Regions from separate parts of the Homo sapiens genome. Here region 1 is linked to region 2. The links are contacts of gene promoters, found by promoter capture Hi-C in human tissues and cell types (Jung and others, 2019). All regions are on one chromosome and are shown on one strand. The core of a region is centred on a gene start or on the middle of the fragment in contact, and the rest is flanking DNA. Distances in the headings are between cores, read along the strand shown.

Evidence for each region. Contacts are between HindIII fragments. The study calls those that stand out against the background at their distance.
Region 1: a contact is called between a fragment that was not itself captured here and the fragment with the promoter of LYPD1 in region 2, in 2 of the 25 tissues and cell types used here (heart right ventricle and thymus).

What each region holds. Positions count from the first base shown.
Region 1 is chr2:132,745,820-132,752,532 of GRCh38, reverse strand. All of the region lies in intron 16 of NCKAP5 (NCK associated protein 5), which reads left to right. Among named protein-coding and RNA genes, the nearest start is that of LYPD1, 79 kb to the right of the region's middle. RefSeq lists an enhancer at 5,189-5,358. The HindIII fragment of the contact is 3,953 bases long and covers 3,262-6,713 here.
Region 2 is chr2:132,667,535-132,674,553 of GRCh38, reverse strand. It overlaps LYPD1 (LY6/PLAUR domain containing 1), which reads left to right and starts at 4,349. Exons shown (of 3, transcript NM_144586.7): 1 at 4,349-4,673; 2 at 6,017-6,154. The coding sequence starts at 4,622. NCKAP5 (NCK associated protein 5) reads left to right here. Exons shown (of 20, transcript NM_207363.3): 20 at 1,249-2,766. The coding sequence ends at 1,265. RefSeq lists an enhancer at 4,523-5,486. The HindIII fragment of the contact is 6,763 bases long and covers 345-7,019 here.

The DNA of each region.
Region 1 (6,713 bases), core at 3,989-6,488, 77 kb before region 2:
TGGGTAGAGACTACAGATGCCAAGATTCAGACACCAGCCAGCCTGAATCATCATCCTTTATGTAAAACAGTGGTACAGGGGCCCTAGTGAAGAGGCTTTATTAAAAGCCTTTCCGTTTAGCCCTCTGAGTTCATGTGGAACAAAGCTCAATGCTTTTACTTTTTAGACTGAGTCTGAATTCAAAACTCATTTTGATGTCTGTAAGATGTGAACTTCCTCACAGAGGAGTATGCCTTCTGCAGAGATGTTTGTTCCCCTCACCGTAAGGGAACCAAAGATGCCAGAGGCCTGTGCACGGGGGAAGGGCCCAAGGCCCCTAAAACCTGCATGCCTGCAAATGGCATATTTATTCAGTATGCAGTTATGGGTACCTATTAGAGAAATTTGGGTTTTAGAGCAAACTTTCTCTATGGGCAAAAAATGATGACTTCAGGGATGCATCAGATGCTCCTGCTAAAATCAGTGAGAGTTGCTCTTCTTGTAGATAATTGTGCTGACTGGACAGAATAGAGGATGACAATTAATGCACTGCATTTTACACATTGCCCTGTTCTACAAGAAGACTGGTCTGCCAGGGAACTCAGATGAAATGGTCTTTTCCCCCTTGAACCAGTGTGTCCAGATTCCACAGTGGGCAGGCTGCTGTGCTGAATTTGCACTAGGTCTTCCTTTGTACATCTAAGTTGTATTGGATGGTGGTATGAAACTGCCAGGTAGAAAGGCAATCCACTATGCACGGTGTGAAAAATCCCCACTTTTCACCAACCCCTGCCTGAGAAAGCAACACCCTAGAGACACATGCAGGGACCTGCTTTCACTTCAGTAATTGCACAGGGATCTTTTAATCCAGACAGATATTGGGACCAGCAATGGAACCCTGCTAAGTTGAATGAAGTGTCCCAGGATGATGGAGGCCTTGAAATAGGAGAACAGGCTGTAGGCATGTGCATTGCTCCACAATAAACCATACCCATTAGTGAGTTTATATTTACAAGCATAGATAATAAACTTGGCTTCTGGAATAGAGTTCTGCAGGCATATGGAATACAAGTATCTCAGTCCATTTGTGATGGATATAAAGGAATACCTGAGGCTGTGCTGGGTAATTTATCGAAGAAAACAGGTTTATTTGGCTTGTGGTTCTGCAGGCCGTACAAGCATGGTGCCAGTGTCTGCTTCTGTTGAGACCTCAGGAAGCCTCCACTCATGCTGGAAGGCAAAGGGAAGCAGGCACCACATGGCAAGAGAAGAAAGAAGAGAGGAAGAGGTGCCAGGCTCTTTTTAACAACCAGCTTTTGGGGGATAGAGGGAAATCTCTCTCAGGAACTAAAGGTGAGAACCCACTCCCTCCTGTGAGAATGGCACCAAGCTATTCATGAGGGATCCACCCCTATGATCCAAACGCCTCCCACCAAGACAGATTTCACTGGGGATCAAATTTCAACATGAGACTATAACAAGAAGCTAAGAGGACTTCTTCTGAAACAAATAAATGGGCTGAGCTGTGTCTTTCAGAGTGAAGTTTCTCCTTCCCCTGCACATTTAAGCAGATGTAGCTGTCACAAACCTTTGAAGCCCTAGCATGTTCTGTTCTGCTGCAATCCTCAGGACCCCACAGGGAGACCTGCTCAGTCTGCCTCATCCTCCTCATTTGGCTCTATCCTTAATTCTTTCCAAGTGTGCTTGGGCTCCCTAAGTGTCCTGTGACTTGCTTGAGCTTGCAGAGACATTTTCAGCCTTTTATCCTGAAGCTCTCTTAGCTGCCCTGGCTTTCTGCTTAATCCCACCTTCAGCAATGGTACTCACTGTAGTTTTCCTTTCTACTTCCTAGAAACTCTGCTCACAAACAAAATGTTCATGCTTAGCACTAGATATTTCTAATGTGGCCTCCAGCATCACTATTCTGTTCAGCTCCCATGCCTTCTCCTCACCATGGTTACCCTCCTATTATGATCTTTTCCCATGCTATAACTCAGCTCTTTATTTTAGGAGCACCCCCAAGACTGTACTCCCAAGTCTTCACATTTGGAAAAATGAGAAGCTTCTTCAATGCCTTTTCATCTCTTTCTTCTTGTCTCCATAAAATACGCATTTTCTAAAGAAACAAAAGCACATTCAATATTATTTGACATATAATGATCTCATTCTATTGGAAGGCCAAGTTATGGCAGTTACCCTTGATGATACCAACACATATTCTTGATACCATCTTTTGAATTTTTATATATTGGCCTTATGTCAAAATGATTGTTGCATCTTCTCATCAAATTTTCTGTCAAGTCTTCCTTACGCTTCCTGAACACAAAAAAAGACAACAACTTTGCATGTTTCAAACTTAAAATGCAGGGTCAGAGGTGCTAAACTTACTCCTGAGCCTTGACATCTTTCATACAACTTCCCTAGCTTTTCAGAAATCAAGATAATGCACCCTAAACAGAAATGATCCTGAAACAACCATACGTAAGTTTCAGTTATAGTTTTGCCGCTTATTAACTAAACAAACCTTTGCGTCAGTTTCTGTATCTGTAAGCTGGATATACTGATTTTTGCCTTCCCTTACTCGGAGCATGATTGTTGGGAGGATAAAAGGTGGTGAGGCTCATGGCATCATAGTTTAAATGTAAAGTGAGCCCAAAGTGCAAGGGACTCCTTTATACTAGCCTCCAGGGCTCTGCTAGATACTGAAGTCACAGTCATCTGCCAGCCAGTTAACCATTTCCGTTCCTATCAGAACTCTAGTTGAAACACTGTCCTGCGTGGCTAAGCAGACATTTGAAGGTTTTTTTTCCCCCATGTATTTTGTCTTATATGTATTTTAAGTAAAAAAAAAAATGCTACCTTTATAACACTCTTGCTTTCAAAGACCAAAGACCAGAACCTCTTCTCATTAGGTCTGTTACAGAGAGTGAATACAGGTAGGACGAGCCAAAGGGCCTGGGGATACGGCTTGGTAGTGCGTTGATGGTAAATGTGGAAAAATAATTTTAAAAGGACCATCTTTTTCAACTGGAGATTTTCTTTTAGGAAGTGAGATTCGGTTGGGTGCAGCACCTGTAATCCCAGCACTTTGGGAGGCCAAGGCGGGTGGATGGCTTGAGCCCAGGAGTTCGAGACCAGCCTGGGCAATATGACAAAATCCTGTCTCTACAAAAAATACAAAAATTAGCCAGGCATGGTGGCTTGCACCTGTAGCCCCAGCTACTGAGGAGGCTGACGTGGGAGGATGGCTTGAGTCTGGGAGGTGAAGGTTGTAGTGAGTGGAGATACAGTACCACTACACTCCAGCCTGGGCAACAGAGCAAGACACTGTCTCCAAAGTAAGAAAGAAAATGAAACTGAAGAAAAAAAAGAAAAAACTATATCACACCAAATAGGTTTTAAATTATATCAGACTATGTATTTATTTTAAATAATAGCTATAAAACCTCATTAGAAAGGAAGTGCTGACAAAAAGTCTCGACTTCGGCTGGGCATGATGGCTCATGCCTGTAATCCCAGCAACTTTGGGAGTCCGTAGGGGTGGATCACCTGAGGTCAGGAGTTCAAGACCCTGAAACCCCATCTCTACTAAAAATACAAAAATTAGCTGGGTGTGGTGGCATGCAACTGTAGTCCCAGCTACTTGGGAGGCTGAGACAGGAGAATTGCTTGAACCCAGGAGACGGAGGTTGCAGTGAACCAAGATCACGCCATTGCACTCCAGCCTGAGTGACAGAGTGAGAATCCGTCTCAAAAAAAAAAAAGTATCCTGACTTGGTTTTAAATGGTTCACTAGAGTCCATAAGGGAGTAGTAATTGAATTAGAAAAATAAATAAATACCAAAGGAGGGAACTAGAATATAAATATATCCTAGCAACATAATGGAATTTCTTTGAAACAGGGAGAGTAGGGTACGGGTATAGTTGTTGCAGAGCAGCGCAAAGAGCTCTGGACTTGGTGTTAGAAGACCTGGCTTTGAATTCCGGCTTCTGCATATGTGCTCATGTCCCTAAGAGATAATGTTCTCTATGCATTTGTTTTATCTGAAGAATGGAAATAATTACTCCATTTATAGAAAAAGTGTTGCCATAAACTCAACTGAAGTAATGACTCAGAAAGAATGTAGCAGACATTTCCACTCCAGGAGTGAAGCCTGATGAAGGCGGTCATGGCAATCTTCCCTGCCAGTGATTGGTTCAGAAATTCAGGCCTGGGCCAGTCAGTGAACAGCATTTTCCAAGAGATACAAATTTGTCTGGGAATGAGTTTATGACCTTATTTGCCTAATTTTCAAGGGACAGGTGGTTGGAGGTATAGAGAAAGGCACACAGAGAGTCAACTTCTCTCTCCCTTAGACATGGGAGTGTGTGGCTGACTAGTATGGAGCTACTAAAACCTCCTGATAACAGCTTGAAGATAAAACTGATACATAGCAGGGACACAGTGAAGAGAACTGCAGGCAAATAGAGGCGGAGGCCCTGGATTAAGGCAGCCCTGAAGCTTGTTCTAATTCTGCACTGTGAGCTAATACCATTCTTCACCATTTAACATGTTACTTTCCACCAAGAGCATCCTTACTGATTCAGAATGCTTGGTAAACTGAATACAGAAGAAGGTACTATAACCATGTAGCAATCAAGCCTGAAGCTTTGAGGTTTGCACAGGCCCCAATCCAAATCCTGGTTTTCCTACTTATAGCTATAGGCCTACGGGCAAGTTATTGACCTCCTTAAACTTCAGTTTCCTCATAGGAAAAATGTGTCCATTACACATTGCATAATGACATAATACAAGTGAAGCACCTGCCCAGTAGTAAATAATCAACAAATGTTGTTATGCTGCAGAAAGGTGAGGTGTAATGAAGGTCAAATGCATTTGCACAGAGCATATATCAGCTACCTGTAAGGTCCTGAATCAGAGGCTCTGCTCCTTAGATGCCCTCTCTGCAGAGGAGTGTCTGGGGCACACAGCTATGGAAACCAGGGATCCCCACCCTACTGGAAAGAGGTTGATGAATAAGAAGATCCTGAGCTTCAGAGTCAGGCCGGCACTTCTTCAAGTGACCATTTCACTTCTCAGAGTTCTGCTTTCCTCCCCCATAAAATGAAGATAATAATAGCTATTTCCCACGATTATTGAAAAGATAAAGGAGTTCACAAAGCCCTTTGTGACCTGCATAGATCTGGGATTAAGGAATAGCATCAGTCTTGTTCCCTGGTGATTCTTGAAGATGCTTTCTTGCCAACACCACTTTCAGATGCCTCTAATGATTATTCAAGCGTGTACCCTGGGGAAAGCACAGTTCCTTTGCTCATCTGTGTTCAACCAGAGTTCACTGTTTGATTTCAGTTTTGGTTTTCTTTGTTTTGTTTTTTTTTTTTGGCAGGCTGAGTATAAAATGTTTAAAAGCAGGTTCATGGAGGTATAATTTATATATAACAAAATTCATCCTTTTGAAGTGTATAGTTCAGTAAGTTTTTGTAAATGTATACAGTTGTATAACCACTATCACAATCAAGATTTACAACACTTTCATCACCCCAAAATACTCCTTCACGCCTTTTACACCCCACCCTCTCCTAATACCACTGCTCCCAGGGAACCACTGGTCTGCTTTATATCAGTGTAGTTTTGCCTTTGCTAGAATTTCATGTAAATGGAATCAATGATAAAATACATAATATTGGGGGTTTGGCCTCTCTTAATAAGCATAATGCTTTTGAGGGTCATCCATGTTGTATCAGTGGTTTTTTAGTTTGTTTATGTTTTTATTGCCCATTAGTATTTTGTTGTATGAATGTACCACAATTTGTTTATCCACTGGCTGATAAACAATTTGATAGTTTCCGGTTGGGGCTATTATGTGTAAAGCTGCTATAAACATTTGTGTATAAGTCTTTGGGGGGACATATAACAGTAAGAGTATTATAGCTGTGTTGCATGATGGGTATATGTTGCTTGCGTTTTATTTTCTTAACCGTGTCTTTGAAGACAAAATTTTTAATTTTGATTAAATCTAATTTATCATGCTTTTATTTTATGGTTCATGTTTTCTTGCTCTATTTAAGAAATTGATGCCTAATCCAAGGCCACAGAGATACTCCGATATTTTCTTCTGGATGTTTTGTGGTATTAGATCTTGTGTTTGGGTTTATGTGTTAATTTTTATATACAGTGTGAGAAAAGGGTTTACTTTTCTTCAGATGAGTATTTATTGTTTTTAATACCTTTTGTTGAAACACTATCTTTCTTCCGTTAAATTACATTGTCATCTTTGTCAGAAATCAATTGAAAATATATGTGTGAGTCTATTTCCGGAATGTCTGTTCTGTTCCACTGACCTATGTGCAAATCCTTACCCAATACCACACTCTCTTAATGAACGTAGCCTTATAAAGAATTCAGGCAGTGTCAGACCTCTGACCTTGTTTTACTTTATGAAAATGTTTCCATTTTCACATAATTTTAGAATCAATGTGTCAACGTCTTTTTTTAAAAAAAAACCTGATAGTGTTTTGATTAAAATGTCATTGAATCTGTAGATCAATTTGAAGAGAATTGATATCCGAACAATTTTGAGTCTTCTGATCCATGAATATGGCAGATCTCTCCATTTATGTCAGTATTCTTTAAATTTATCTCTACAATGTTTTGTACTTCTTAGTGTACAAGGTTTCACCATTTTATAAGATGTGTTTTTTTCATATTTTGATGCTGTTAGAAATAGTATTGT
Region 2 (7,019 bases), core at 3,100-5,599:
AGCAGAACTGCACATGTTAGAGACGGTTTGGCAAGTTATTTAAGTGGAATTTTTGGGTAACAAAATGGAAAACAGGACATTGTGTCCTTTATTACCTAAGAACATGGTTTAATGGAAAGAACAAGAGCATGGAAGGCAGCCAGACAGAAATTCAAATCCTGTTCTCTGCCACTTGCTGGGCAACCTTGGGCAAATATCTCTGTCACTCTGAGCCTTGCATACCTTCTCTTTAAAATGGGGTCGTTTACCTTGTAGGTTTGTGAAAAAGCTGATAGAATCTGTTAAGTGTCTTTTACCTAGTGGATGCTTAATAAATGGTAACACTTACTATCATCTCCAAGCCCCCGGGCCTGCTTCTTTCCTGTGTTTGGATGGAATTTCTGCTGGAAAGAGGAAAAGAAGATGAGAAATATTGTAGACACTTTTACATGTCTGTTTTTCTCATTGTTTTTCGCAAGTGTGCCTCCCTCTGTCCTCACCTTAGCCCTTAGGAGCCAACTGAGCAACCGAATATATTCATGTTTACAGGGTTTACCTATGATAATTATTGAATTTGGTGCAGTGCTTTATACATCATACAGGGTATTAATAACAGTAATATCCCAGTATAAACTGGTATTACTAGACCTTCTGGAGCAGAGGGGTTACTCAGCTGTTCACCTGCCGCTTTAATTTTTAAGCCCTTGGGCCTTCTGGGATCTACACCCAAAAACCTGGAGATCTCTTTCAAATATCTTAAGTCCTATAAAGGGACAAAATACTAAAATGGCAATGCTTCTAACAAGCTTAACATGTATTCAAAAATGGCAAGTTAGGGGATTTTTATGTCTTTTTTTTATTAGAAAAAAACATATTACCATAACTTCTGGCTGAAATTCAATACCTACTCATATTTAGAAAAAGTACAGCTAATACTTAGCAAGGAAAGAGAGGAGTTTGAAACTTTGATGAAGAAAAATAAGGCACTTTACCTGAACAAATTTCAAATGGATCCATTTAAAATGAAATTAAGTGGCACTTAATTTGCAAATTGGGACCTATTTATCTCAGTAAAATGATTAAAGTCCTGATTTATCCCTAAAATTGGCTTTATTATTACATCTAATTATACTAGAAGATTATTAAAGACTTGTAGGTTTTCTCTGTCCCTTTAAACTGTACTTTATACAGACAATAATTGAATATTAGATAGGATAACTTGATTTTCCAAAGAAATATGTTTCTAATATTTTCTTCTTTTTATTGCAGAAATTGAGACAACTTGAAGAAACAAAAGACGATCCCGAGAATAGATTATCGAAAATTTCCCTAGAGTCATTCAATAAATTTAACAGCAATACTGTGATTTTATTAGAAAAAGAGAAGAACTCTCTGAACAAGGTTGAAGGACAGAAGGAAGAAAAAGAAAAAAATGAAGAGACATCTTTGAGTAGTTCAGATAGGCCTGGGGTAGACAACTTGGAATCTTTGAGTGATTCTTTATATGATAGCTTCTCTTCCTGTGCCAGTCAAGGTTCAAATGATGTATAAAGGACATCTCTTCCCTTAGTGAGCTGGGACTGGAGCGCTTAAGAAATGATGGGTGGGGGGTGGGGGGTGCACCGCTTGATAGAGATAACAATAAACTATTGCAGTACCAGAGCCTTCCTTGTCAAATTCACAGCAGGCAACCCACCAGAGCTTATTTCTCTGACAGGGCAATAAAGATAGACTCCATTTATTGTGTTTCAAGAGGATTAAGCGTAAACACATCTATGATACAGAATCCTTAATTTTGCACTTTTTTTGAATATTTGTACAGAAGTTGTAAATTTTTTGGAAGAGAAATTATATTTGTAGCAAAAAAAGACAGCAATAAATGGAATCAGTGCCATGCTCTTGAAATAATGTACTAAGTCTTAGAAGTTGATGATAATATATATTTTTTAAAATCCCAACTGAAGTTTTTGTGAAGTTCGTTGTCCTGGTCCTCAAATTGTTTGTGGGTACACTCTGTAAACCTACAACAGGGCCTGCCAAAAAATCGGAGGGTTCCTCCTCATCTCCATCTCACAAATCTCAATTTGATGGAAATGTTCATTTTAGTGTAATTTCAGATTCGTTGCCAGAGATTCAGGTGATAGTAATAAGTGTCATTCTGCTTCTGCTGAAAAATGAAAAGGGTCCTGAAGTGTGGACACTGATTGGGAGTGTGACATTGTATCAGAAATGACCGAATTCTATTCCCAATACCAGTTTTTCCTTCCAGACATTTCTTTAGATTGTCTTTTACTTAGTGCTTCTCTATGATCCTGAATATTATTTGATTTTTATCTTCTTGCTCTTTTTATTAAAATCTGGGCACTCTAAAAATGAAAACAAATTTCTATTTGCAATGTTCACTTTTAAAAATAAAATTAATGGTGCTACGAAGAATTCTTTTTAATATCCTTTTTTTTCTACAAAGACTGTTTATATGTAAGGATAAATTCTATTTTAAAGGTTATGTGTATTTTTTCTAGATGTGAACTATTTATAATTACTTATGTACAGGAGCTTGTAAACTAGGCCCAATAGAAATATTTTTAGGATCTATATGGCTACTTTAGCACATAATTGTTTCTTTAAAGAGTATTGTATGATCAGTGTTATTTGGTTAATTTGTGCAATTTGTTTTATTTTATCTTAAATGAAAATTATGTAAAATGTCCTTGTCTTTCAGACTTTAAAAAATCTTTTTGTTTCCTTTCTGAATAAAAGTTATATCACATTTGCACCCTCTGAAAACAGAAAATAACTTGCTCAAGGACCTTTTGGCCCAGTCAGTTACTTGAATCATGACTCACACGTGCTCTTACAATGGGTTCCCAGAAGGAATAAATAAATTGGCCCTTTTGCTCCAGAGATAGTAATTTAGCCAATTGTAAGATCAGAGTCTGCAGACAGGTGAGTAATGGTCAAAGCATTTCAGTCTCCCCGAGGGGTTAACCAAATAGAAATGAAAGAAGGGGGAGAGGGAGGGAGGGAGGGAGAGAAGGAGCCTGAGGCAGATATGGAACGATCTCTGCAGAGGAATTACAAAGAAAGTCATTTAAGCCCCTTTACAGACCAGCTCTGCTGGGAGGATGCAGAAATAAATGATCAGCGTCCCGGCGTGAGAGAGCTGCCCCCAGAAGTGGCCGGGGGAGAAAAGGGTGAAGAGGAGCTAAAGCTTAGGAGGCGATTTCCACGGAAATGGATGCTCCCTAAGGATGTGCGGAAAGGGGATGGGAATGTGCGGATTGGGGGCGGGGGCACCAACGCACTCCGGCGGGCAAGCGGTCTCCCGCACCACCTGCTGCAAGGCTCGGGAAGGAAGGCGAAGATAGCACCGGGGCATCCCCGGGAGTCCGCAAGGTGGGTCACTTGGACTTTGCGGAAAGAAGACGAATTTGAGGGGTGTGGGGAGCAGCCAGAGGCCGAGTCCGAGGCTGGGATGGCCTTTCAGGAGAGGACGTGGGAGTATGTGCTAATAATCGGTGGCTTTGGGGAAAGCAGAATGGAGCCGGCTGGCGTTTGGGAGACAAGGAATGGAGGAGAACAACCCTCTTCCTCACCCTGATTTGCTTTCTGGTAGGACCTCACGGCAGGTGTCCCCGGGACGGCGTTCTCCTAGGCTAGGCGACCAGGGCGGTGTCAATGCACCCTCCAGCGGTGCGCGCAGGCGGGAGAAGGGAGGGCGGCCCGGGCAAGTGAGACAGTTAAGGCAGTGTCCCCACCACACCCCCACCCAGATTGGCCACGCCGAGCTGGTTCTTGACAGAAGGCCTTCGCGGAGGAAGAGGGGGCACAGCTGCACAGGACACCCTACGGAGCCTGCGGGCGTGGAACTTTGCCAGGCGCACGGGAACGCGCGCCCTTCCTGTCAGCCTCCCGGGGCGCCAGGCTCCCGCGGCCCGCAGCGGGACAGCCTCAGTTGTGTGGGCTGGACCCAGTCGCTGGGGTACCGACCAGTCCTGGAAGGCGCAGAGGACGTGGAGTGGGGAGGCTGCCTTCCTATGTGCGAAGGGCCAGCCGGGCACGCAGTCCTCAGACCCTAGTCCGCACCCGGCAGGTCCCCACGGCACCTGCTGCGCCCTCCTCGCCGCTCCCCCAACCTCCCCATCTCAGAAAACTACCAGTTCTCTCCCGCCCCCCGGCGCCCCTTTCCCAGGAACGTGCGGAGGCGGGAGAAGAGGAAGACAGGAAGGGGGTGGGGATGTGAAGCGACCGTCCCAGCCTTCCCCGCCCGCCACCCCCACCCCAACTCGGCAGCCGTCACGTGATGCCTGGAGTGGGAGGTGGGGAGAAAAGGCGAGACTTTTGTGGGTGCTCCCGATCGCCAGTAGTTCCTTCAGTCTCAGCCGCCAACTCCGGAGGCGCGGTGCTCGGCCCGGGAGCGCGAGCGGGAGGAGCAGAGACCCGCAGCCGGGAGCCCGAGCGCGGGCGATGCAGGCTCCGCGAGCGGCACCTGCGGCTCCTCTAAGCTACGACCGTCGTCTCCGCGGCAGCAGCGCGGGCCCCAGCAGCCTCGGCAGCCACAGCCGCTGCAGCCGGGGCAGCCTCCGCTGCTGTCGCCTCCTCTGATGCGCTTGCCCTCTCCCGGCCCCGGGACTCCGGGAGAATGTGGGTCCTAGGCATCGCGGCAACTTTTTGCGGATTGTTCTTGCTTCCAGGTGAGAATACCCAGAGGCCAGCAGCCGAGGCCAGGTGCGCACAATCCATCTACCCGCCAGCCCTTTTGCCCCCAAGGCGCCCACCTCGGGGCCAGCCCTGCGCTGGGGCTGCCCAGCGGGAGTTGGCGGCCGCGACTGGTGCCCCGGGGCGCGAGGCTGGGAAAGTGTCCAAGTCCCGCGCTGCAGGAGGAGAGCGGGGAGCGGCGGGTTTGCGGGACTCCGGGCTGCAGCTTGTCCGGCTGCACCGTCGGGAGAAGCTGGGCTTGAGAGGAGGGAGGGTCCGAGCGGTGCTGGGTTCTGGGCGAGGGAGAGGGGGCGACATCTCCCGAACCCTGCCAAGTTGTCTGGCGCCTCCGGCACCCCGTGGGAGTGGCGCCGCCGACAGGTGAGCGATGCGCGAGGCAGCCTGCGGCCACGCTGAAGCTGGGTTGCTGCGCTCAGAGTGCGATAGATGTGGGGCTGCGGGAGCGTGGGTAGTTGGGTCTAGACAGGAGCGCGTACACCGAGAACAGCCAGGCCGAAGCGTCCAGAGGCGCAAAGGTCTCGCGTCCTCTCTCCAGTTCGCCTACTGGCTCCCGACTAAGCTCTGCAGAGCTGGAACCCCGACCACTGACCCTAGTCGAACGGTTGTCCTGAAAGCCGGGGCCTGGAAGAAAGGGCTGCGGGGTCGGGGATCCAGGGTGCGCGCGCTCACAAACGCCCTTTCCCACCCTCTGTGGCCATTCGGGTCGCCGCGGGGACGGCCCCGGAGAAGGGCCGCCGACCCGGGCTCGGGGACTTGCGGCGCAGCAGCGCTTGGCGTCTGGCACCTCCACCCAAGTTGTTCCCAGGTGGTCGCTCAGGGATCCTCAGAGCCCTGGCACAGAAACGCTGACTTTAAAAATTAAATAAATAAAAACTAAAAAGACGTCTGCGAATGTAATCACGAATGGTGCCAAAATAGTAATTAAGTAATTTGTAACCAATTAGCAATTAGGCAAATCCTTTGGCTTAGGCTGGAGCTAACGCACATCTCCAGAGCTACTTCACTCTTGCGGTGGTACCGTCCCCACCCTCCCTTCAACTTCTTGGGAAAAGGCCTGGGGTGGTAATGGATGGGCGCTTTGTGTCTAGAGCCGGGGTCCAGGGGTGGCGGGCACTATTCCACTTTCTTCCGTAGGACCCTAGGTACCCGCGCCGCCCCCTGCCGGTGTCAGCCACATCCAGCCCTACCCGGAGACCCAGGAGTGGTCTAAGCCTGCCAGAGGCTGGGAGCCGCCTGGCTCTGAGGCGTGGGATGGTCGTGATTTCCGGGGTGGGCTCTGTGGGGGCCGGATCTGAACCCGACTGCGTCTGTCTCGCAGGCTTTGCGCTGCAAATCCAGTGCTACCAGTGTGAAGAATTCCAGCTGAACAACGACTGCTCCTCCCCCGAGTTCATTGTGAATTGCACGGTGAACGTTCAAGACATGTGTCAGAAAGAAGTGATGGAGCAAAGTGCCGGTAAGAGCCTGGCAGCCCTCCCCCTCGCTCTTAAGCCTGGGCTGTGGGGTGGGAGTGAGGGGGCCATTAAATAGCAGGAAAAAGGACTGACTTTGATTTAATGCCCACACACTGGTTATCGCAGATTTAGTTTTACAGTGCTGGGAAAATGAAGAGTTCCAAGTTACTTTAATCTCATTAGAGTTAATTACCAAGGCTTCTCCCCAAGGGTCTTGGGAGGGGAAGTGCATGTAAATTAGTGGCTCTCCTCTTTTTATTTACTCCCTTCACCTCCCTATGCTAAAAGCTGATGGAGGTAGAAAATATATGGCTAACCAGCCCTGGCTTGGGCAACTAGACAGTAGCCTGTGAGCATTGTCAGCCTGAAATATGGAGCTAGTTGAAGCTCCCAGAGGTCAGAGCTTGAAAAATGTGTTTTGTCATAGAGGCACACCATATTTCCTTGAAGAACACTACAGGATCTTTGTTTAATTTTAGAACTAATGCATCAACTTCCAGGCACAAATTGCCAAGATCTTTCAAAGGAATGCCGTTCTCAGCCCTACCAGCTTAGCTGCTGGCTAGCTGAGAAGAAGTCCTGAGCATCCTGTGGGGGAAGGGGAGGTCTTGTGGGATAGCCCTCACTCCCTCTAGTTGACCAAGAATCTTCTCACTGAGGTAGAACTTTCCAACCCTCTCCTCACCCCCTACCCCAGCTGTCTTATCAGAAGTCAAAGTTCCCCAAAGTATATCTGGAACTTTGGGAGAATAGGTAGAGCTGTTACTTCAGTTTCAAGGTCAAAACCATAAACACAGACCTTGCCATTTTAAGGATATTAAAAGGATGGGAAATAGCATAACTTGATGGCTGATAGTGAATGAACCA